Linked DNA regions of Homo sapiens: region 2 is linked to region 1. Evidence: promoter capture Hi-C in 16 types of primary human blood cells and fetal thymus (Javierre and others, 2016). All regions are on one chromosome and are shown on one strand. The core of a region is centred on a gene start or on the middle of the fragment in contact, and the rest is flanking DNA. Distances in the headings are between cores, read along the strand shown. Region 1 holds the start of NCBP2-AS1 (NCBP2 antisense RNA 1). Region 2 overlaps PCYT1A (phosphate cytidylyltransferase 1A, choline).

Region 1 (4,534 bases), core at 336-2,835:
TGTTACTAGAGTAGGGAAAGGGAAATTTTGTTTGACGCTAAATTAGGGAAGCTCTTAGATTTATTTAGTCAAGGCTGGGAACGGTGGCTCACGCCTGTAATCCCAGCACTTTGGGAGGCTGAGGCGGGTGGATCACGAGGTTAGGAGTTCAAGACTAGCCTGGCCAAGATGGTGAAACCCCGTCTTACTAAAAATACAAAAATTAGGCGGGCGTGGTGGCAGGCGCTTGTAATCCCAGCTATTCGGGAGGCTGAGGCAGGAGAATCGCTTGAACCGGGGAGGTGGAGGTTGCTGTGAGATCGCGCCACTGCACTCCAGCCTGGGCAACAGAGCGATATTCCTTCTCAAAAAAAAAAAATTTATTCAGTTAATGTATTTTATTTTTTGAGACAGAGTCTCGCTTTATTGCCTAGGCTGAAGTGCAGTGGCGCAATCACGGCTCACGCAGCCTCAACCTCCTGAGCCTAAGTGATCCTACCCACCTCAGCCTCCTGAGAAGCTGGGACCACAGGCTCGCGCCACCACATCCAGCTAATTTTTTGTAGAGACAGGGTCTCCCTGTGTTGCTCAGGCCAGTCTCGAACTCTGGGACTCAAGCGATCCACCTGCCTGGGGCTTCCCAAAGTGCTGGGATGCCTAAGTGCCAGGCATGATTTGCACTTCTACCACTTTTAGTTACTACTTTAGACAGTTCCACATCCTGACCATTTTGAACTTAAAGCATCCTGTGAGATGAAAACTGGAACCTTCTGACTTTGTCTATTATTCATCTCCTCAGTCTAAACCTGTAGCTTTTTTTAGATGCTAATGCCATACTGTCATGTGGAATTTCTAGCATTCTGTGAATGGAATCCATATTAATATACTTTAAGCACTTACACCACAGTTATCTTAAACTGTAGGCTATTTATTTGGATCTTACTTACATGTGTGAGAAAAGTAGAAAAAGAAGATGCCTCCTTTCCATGTTCACAAATCAGTAACAGCAGTAAAATGAAAGGAATTTACTTTCTCTAATGTCTCACTCCAAAGTTCCGAAAACCTCTTTTTAACATACAATGACTATTGTCCTGTGGACTTTTTTTTTTTGAGATAGAGTTTCACTCTTGTTGTCCAGGCTCAAGTGCAGTGGTGCAATCTCAGCTCCCTGCAACCTCCACCTCCCAGGTTCAAGCGATTCTCCTGCTTCAGCCTCCCGAGTAGCTGGGATTACAGGCGCCCGCTGCTACCATGCCCAGCTAATTTTTGTATTTTTAGTAGAGACAGGGTTTCATTCACTATGTTAGCCAGGCTGGTCTCAAACTCTTGACCTCAGGCGATCCACTCGCCTCAGCCTCCCAAAGTGCTGGGATTACAGGCATGAGCCACCGCGCCTGACCCCGATGAGCCATTTTGGACCCAGGGCTTTGTCTGTCAGGTGTGTTGGATGAAGCCCAGTTATATGCTTAAGTCTCTGGCTTCATCCTGTCATCCCAATTTGGAAGCCCATTAAGAAAGTGAGCTCTGTTTTGTTTTTAGTGATCACTACATTTTCCCCTAAACTCAGAGAAAGATCTATGAGCACGTAAAGCATCAAGGTTGTGGCTTTCAACAGTCTCTAGGGGGTTATTAAAGAGGAACTCTCTCTCTCTCTGAAAACCCACTTATTTTTCACTACGAAGGATAAAAGGGCCCTTTGTCATATATTGGGTCAAGGTCCAGAGTCTACACTTGGGTTTAAAGGATGCACTGCTGAGGATATGGTGTGTGCAGGGAAAAGGGAAGCCGCTTGCGTGGCAGTCGGGCGTAGAAGTGACTTTGTTGTATGTGGTATAACTTTTGAGCCCTGTCTCTACTAAGAGTCTGGACTTCGCATAAGTGCTTCACAGAAGGTCGACATCCCCCTTTTTGGGCAAGGGATTTCTGGTAGGCTGGGATGAGAGAAGTTGATTTCCAAACCAGAATTAATGAATGTCTCTACCGTACTTAGAAATACTATTTAAGCAAGGCTCTGAAGTTGCTTAACTTTTGTCTCTATTTGAAATTCTAGGGTGACAATGAAGAACAAGAAAAATTACTGAAGAAAAGCTGTACGTTATATGTTGGAAATCTTTCTTTTTACACAACTGAAGAACAAATCTATGAACTCTTCAGCAAAAGTGGTGACATAAAGAAAATCATTATGGGTCTGGATAAAATGAAGAAAACAGCATGTGGATTCTGTTTTGTGGAGTATCCTTCCCATGGATCTAATGTAGCTGCTGAACCAGGGTAGAGCTGAGAGTGGTAGCTCATAAGCGTCCCTGCACTCGTCCCTACGTTTTCCTTCATCTCCCTCCTACTTTCCACCCAGTGTGTCTCTGCCCTTATACTGTAAAGCTGATACTATTTATATTCTCTTCTGAAATCCATGCTTTATGGTTCTTTAACAAAAAGTTTTTCAAGAATGTTTGCCCTTCACGTAAAAAAAAAAAAATTCCAAAGAATGTAGTGAAAATATAAAAATCTCGTACTGTTCTAAACCCCTAATGCCCTTTGCCAGAGGCAGTCAGTTACCAGTTTCTTGGGCGTCTTTCAAGAAGTAACCCTGTGGGTGTGCGGTAGTGTATTTCATGTGCTGTTTTTAAAATCATTTTTTTATTTTTTATTGTTCCATTTCAGCATATGTAGGTCTTTTTTTAAAATAGCTGTACAGCTGGGCATGGTGGCTGGTGTTTGTAGTGCCAGCTGCTCAGGAAGCTGAGGCAGGAGGATCAGTTGAGCCCAAGATTTCAAGGCTGCACTGAGTTGTGACTGTGTTCCAGCGGGGGTGACGGGTTAAGACCCCATCTTTAAAGAAAAAAACTTTTAAGTAAATAGCTGTATAGTATTTCATTATATAGATGTATATAACCTGACTGTATAGGTACAAACCAAAACTATTTACTTTGATCATTTAATTCCCTTACTCAGACTCTTTTAAGTATTGGACCTCTTGGATTTATCCTATGTTCTTTTTACTGTATGTTTTGGTCATTCAATTTAATATTCTGAGAAATTTTGCAGGCCCAATTTAATATATCTTTTGAATTTTTTCCTGTGCCCTGAATTATGTTTGTTTCGGTTGAAATTTTTCCTTAAGTGTCTGGTGATCCCTGGATTTCTGCTCATAATTAAGGAAAAGAATGCTGACTCACTGGACCCAGGCAGGGCTTCTCTCCCAGATTGCAGGCTTGCCTCGGGGATACACAGGTTTCCCAAATGCTAGAATGAAAAGAGATTTTATTTTGGCTTGCTAACATCAAAGATACTAGTTTCTCCAGATGGTTTATTCAGAACACTGTTGTCTTATTTTTATTTGTCTGAGATTAAATGTCTTCCCCTTTAATTAAAGGGAGGTCTCTGATGAAGTAGGTTTGGGAACTGCTACCTTGGTGACAGCTTGAGTCTTTCCTTTAGTGAAGTGCAGCACAATTCCACGTGCACGGTGACCTTCTCTTGATTAGGGTGCCTTGGAATGTACAGAACCTAACTTGAATATACAGCACTGGTTTCTTGGATAAGAAGTGTACAGTGATCTAAACTTGCAAACCAAAATACAGAGATGATGGGACCAAAAATTATCAACAGGAATGTCCAAGAAATATGATCAGTGTAGCCATGGATACGTGTCATATTTGACTCTATGTGCTTCCAAACCAATCGCAAACAGGCCTGGGCAAGCTGAATTACTGTCTTTGAACTCCATCTGGTTGGATTAGCTCTTGTACTTTTTAACAACTCAGCTTCATTTACATGTTGTTCCCCTATTTCCAGAAATGTTTGGAAAAATGCTAGTGTTCCTTAATACTTAAGATATTACTCACGCGCAGATGCGGAAAACGCCATGCGGTACATAAATGGGACGCGTCTGGATGACCGAATCATTCGCACAGACTGGGACGCAGGCTTTAAGGAGGGCAGGCAATACGGCCGTGGGCGATCTGGGGGCCAGGTATGCAAGAAGGGTCTCTGGGCTCAGCCATTGCCTGGGATTCCAGTCACAATGACAGGTGTTTTGGCAATTTGTATTTACTCTTTTGTAAATAACTTTGTGTCTATAACCTTGGCTTGAAGTGGATCTGAAAACCACCCAACGGTTTGGGTGAATTTTTTTTTTAAACCGTGAAATGGTATGTTCTGTACGTTTCTAACAAGCAACCATTCTTGAACTTCTGCTAGGGCTAGGTATCTTCCACCTGCAGGAACATCTAAAATGAAAGCAAAACGCACTGAAGTGAGCTGAAGTGCATATGTCCTGCTTGAAATGTTCACATTGTGGCATCTGAACAGGTTTCACTGTTTGTCTAACATGTTTGTGGGAGGCATATTTGTTACACCATTCTTTTCCATACTGTAACTCTGGATTCTTTCCATTAAAGGTTCGGGATGAGTATCGGCAGGACTACGATGCTGGGAGAGGAGGCTATGGAAAACTGGCACAGAACCAGTGAGTGGTGAGAGCTCTGTCAGTGACAAACACTCCTTTGGCCTGTTGAATTTGCTGAAGAACATCACCTAAAGTCTGCACACGAGC
Region 2 (4,388 bases), core at 1,882-4,381, 690 kb after region 1:
TTTCTCTTAGATCTCATTTTGTCTGACTGTTTTATGTTAAATCACCAAGTAGGTAACTGCATTCATGCCAGTGCAGGACAAGGAATAAAGCAATAAAGAATGCACCTGCTCTAGTGAAGTTTCAACACCTCCCTCCTGCTCCCCAGGTTTTTACGAGGGAGGTTGTATAATCTAGGAGAAGATTCTCTACTTAGAGAAAAACAAATATGATTTGAGAGACAAGAAGGTCAGCTCTAGGAATCTTTTGGGAGATGAAAAAAATCAGCAATATGTTTAACTCAGAGAAAGGAAGGAAAAGGGAGAGTGTGAAGGGCAATGGAAATGTTAGGAACAGAATGTTTCGGTGGTAGGTATTTGGGAGAGTAAATCTATCAAAAGAGATCATTAACTGAAACCCAGGTTTCTTCTGCCTAAAGGAGGACATATGGTTACTTAGTCACCAGTGGTGCAGCGTATAATTCATAACCCACATAAACCATATAATTTATCATCCAAATCAGGACGGTTTTGAGCATGAAAGGGAGTTGCTGTTAATAATATACAGAGGTTGAGTGTGGTGGCTCATGCCTATAATCCCAGCACTTTGGGAGGCCAAGGCAGAAGGATTGCTTGAGGCTAGGAATTCAAGGCCAGCCTGGGCAATACAGTGAGATCCCATCTCTACAAAAATTTTAATAATTAGCCAGGTGTGGTGGTGTGCATCTATAGTCCCAGCCACTCAGGAGGCTGAGGTGAGAGGATTGTTTGAGCCCAGGAGGTCTAGACCACGGCAAGTCATGATTGCACCACTGCACTTCAGCCTGGGTGACAGAGACCCTATCTTAAAAAATAAATAAATACATAAATAAAAATTAAAAAAATATATATATAGGCCAGGTACAGTGACTCACACCTGTAATCCCAGCACTTTGGAAAGCTGAGGTGGGTGGATCATAAGGTCAGGAGATCGAGACCATCCTGGCTAACATGGTGAAACCCCGTCTCTACTAAAAATATAAAAAATTAGCCAGGCGTGGTGGCACACACCTGTAATCCCAGCTATTCAGGAGGCTGAGACAGGAGAATCACTTGAGCCTGGGAGGCAGAGGTTGCAGTGAGCCTAGGTCACGTCACTGCACTCTAGCCTGGGCGACAGAGTGAGACTCCGTCTCAAAAAAAAAAAATCTATCTATCTATCTATATAACATATATACATATGTAATATATGCATAATATATAAATGATATTAAATATGTATTATATAGTACATTATATAATAGAAACAGGAAAAATTATATTAAAAGTATATAATTTATATAAATATGATTATATATACTATAACATACATTAAATCAGGGGTGTGTTTATCCTGGCCAATAGCCACTTGGTAAAAGAATGGCTAACGCTAGCTTTCTTCCCAGACTAGTTCAACAGTGACCCCTTCTGGCCGTTTGGTTAATATATCAGCCTGGGTTTGCCAAAGACTTGGGATGGAATGGTGGCCAGTTGAGATGTTGGTAGGCTGGGGAAGCACTGGAGAGAGCAAGAGGCGCATCTGGGATTGGTCTGAGAAAAGGTTCAGTGATCTACTTGGCCTAACATAGGATGATTAGCTGTGCTGCAAGCAGCCACTTGATCAACAGCATTCTGTGCTATTGCCACCATCCAGGCAATGTGTTTCTTGAGCAAAATTTCCCTGCTGTATGCTGTCTAGTAGCAAAGAAACAACAAAGTAGTCTTCATTTGTATATTCTATCCCTTGTGTTTCAGGATCGAATAGTGTGAGATCATAGCCCCTCTGGACTTGTTTAGGGAAAATGGAACTATGTTAGTTACTTCATGGACGTGACTTCTGGGATACTTCAATTTTTTTTTTTTTTGAGACAGAGTCTTGCTCTGTCTCGCAGGCTGGAGTGCAGTGGCGCGATCTCAGCTCACTGCAACCTCTGCCTCCTGGGTTCAAGAGATTCTCCTGCCTCAGCCTCCCGAGTAGCTGGGATTACAGGCGCCCACCACCATACCCAGCTAATTTTTGTATTTTTAGTAGACACAGGGTTTCACCATGTTGGCCAGGCTGGCCTCAACTGCTGACCTCAGGTGATCCACCTGCCTTGGCCTCCCAAAGTGCTGGGATTACAGGCGTGAGCCACTGTGCCCGGCCCAAAAATCTTTTTAATGTATTATTTTTTAATAGGCATAGAGCCAATGCAGTGATTTCTGGGACATAGAAGGGGGATTATATGCTCAAATTTTGTTTTATTTTGCTTTGTCTTATTAAAAATTATCTTTTTAAAAATATTTTTTTCTTCTTTTTTTTTAGTTGACACATGCTGGCAGTAAAAAATAATTTTAATAGAGATAGGGTTTCACTGTGTTGCCCAGGCTGGTCTCAGACTCCTGGGCTCAAGCAGTCCTCCTACCTTGGTCTCCCAAGGTGCTGGAATTACAGGTGTGAGCTACTGTACCCAGCCTGCTTTCTCTCATAGATGAGAAAACTGAGGCATAAGGAAGTTAAGGTTACAGAGGAAGAAAGCTGGTTGGAAAGCTTGGTCAAAGCTTGAGCTATGACCTTTCTGACTCTTAAATCCATTAATTAATTCTTAGTTTTTCATTGGATTGGTATATTTAATTTAAAATTTTTATTTCCTGTATTATAAAATCAATACAACCAGCCTGGGCTGGGCATGGTGGCTCACGCCCGTAATCCCAGAACTTCGGGAGGCCAAGGCGGGCAGATCACTTGAGGTCAGGAAATTGAGACCAGCCTGGCCAACATGGGATACGAATATAAAAATACAAAAATTATCCCGGCTTGGTGGCTTTCGCCTGTAATCCCAGTGACTTGGGAGGCTGAGGCAGGATAGTCACTTGAACCCAGGAGGCAGAGGTTGCAGTGAGCCTAGATCATGTCACCACACTCCAGCCTGGGCAACAGAGCAAGACTCCATCTCAAATAAATAAATAAATAAAAATACAACTAGCTTGGGCAACATGTGAAACCCCATCTGTACAAAAAATACAAAAATCAGCTGAGCGTAGTGGTGTGCGCTGTAGCCAGTGGGGCGTGGCGGTGTGCACTGTAGCCAGTGGGGCGTGGCGGGGTGCGCTGTAGTCTGCGGGGCGTGGCGGGGTGCGCTGTAGTCAGCGGGGCGTGGTGGTGTGCGCTGTAGTCCCAGCTTCTCGGGAGGCTGAGGCGGGAGGATCATTTGAGCCTGGGAGGTGGAGGTTTCAGTGATCTGAGACCATGCCACTGCACTCCAGCCAGGGTGACAGAGCCAGACCCTGTCTCAAAAAATCAAATCAAGTGAAATCAATACATTCCCACAGTTTAATATCCATAAAATACAAAAAGGGCATAAAGTAAAATGTCTCCCTCTCAAGACCTGTCTCACAGCCACCTGGTATCCCTATAACAGGCCACCAATATTACCCATTTCTGTGAATATCTAAGTAAATTGTTTATATATCCTCCCACCTTTTAGTGGGTGTATTATGCTATATTCAATCTTCCGTTGAAATGTAGGTCGTTTCCTGACTGTTGCTATTATAAACAGTACTGCAATGAATAACATCTATATTTACTGTGAGATAATTCCCAGAATTAGAAAAGCTGGGCCACAGCTATAAGCATTTGTCGTTTGTCTTTTGATAGATACGACCTAATTGCCCTTCTTGAAAGTTGCTGATACTCCTTTCAGCAGTGTATGATTTCTTGGTTTAAAATCTACTTATTTATGAGTAAAGCTTTTTGAAAACAAAAATTCATAAACCTCCTGAGAACTACTTTCCTTCTCCTTCATTCATTGCCCTGAAGACAGGAAGGAGATGTATCTGATCCTCAACCTCAGCATGGTGTATCTGATCCTCAGCCTCAGCATAGTGTATCTGGTCCTCAGCCTCAGCATAGTGTATCTGATCCTCAACCTCAGCATGGTGTATCTGGTCCTCAACCTCAGCATGGTGTATCTGGTCCTCAGCCTCAGCATGGTGTATCTGGTCCTCAGCCTCAGCATGGTGTATCTGGTCCTCAGCCTCAGCATGGTGTATGTGATCCTCAGCCTCAGCATGGTGTATCTGGTCCTCAGCCTCAGCATGGTGTATCTGATCCTCAGCCTCAGCATGGTGTATCTGGTCCTCAGCCTCAGCATGGTGTATCTGGTCCTCAGCCTCAGCATGGTGTATCTGGTCCTCAGCCTCAGCATGGTGTATCTGGTCCTCAGCCTCAGCATAGGGTATCTGGTCCTCAACCTCAGCATAGTGTATCTGATCCTCAGCATAGTGTATCTGGTCCTCAGCCTCAGCATGGTGTATCTGGTCCTCAGCCTCAGCATAGTGTATCTGATCCTCAACCTCAGCATGGTGTATCTGATCCTCAGCATAGTGTATCTGGTCCTCAACCTCAGCATAGT

What was found. The method cuts DNA at HindIII sites, captures the fragments that hold promoters and counts their contacts. A CHiCAGO score of 5 or more calls a contact.
Region 2: a fragment that was not itself captured here is called in contact with the fragment with the promoter of NCBP2-AS1 in region 1 in 2 of 17 cell types (naive B cells and total B cells); the score reaches 5.6 in naive B cells.

The regions. Positions count from the first base shown.
Region 1 is chr3:196,936,928-196,941,461 of GRCh38, reverse strand. NCBP2-AS1 (NCBP2 antisense RNA 1) reads right to left here and starts at 1,585. Exons shown (of 3, transcript NR_046630.1): 1 at 1,335-1,585; 2 at 320-488. It overlaps NCBP2 (nuclear cap binding protein subunit 2), which reads left to right. Exons shown (of 4, transcript NM_007362.5): 2 at 2,030-2,211; 3 at 3,814-3,952; 4 at 4,380-4,534. The coding sequence ends at 4,451. The HindIII fragment of the contact is 10,665 bases long and covers 1-4,534 here.
Region 2 is chr3:196,250,808-196,255,195 of GRCh38, reverse strand. All of the region lies in intron 3 of PCYT1A (phosphate cytidylyltransferase 1A, choline), which reads left to right. Among named protein-coding and RNA genes, the nearest start is that of PCYT1A, 35 kb to the left of the region's middle. The HindIII fragment of the contact is 1,188 bases long and covers 2,538-3,725 here.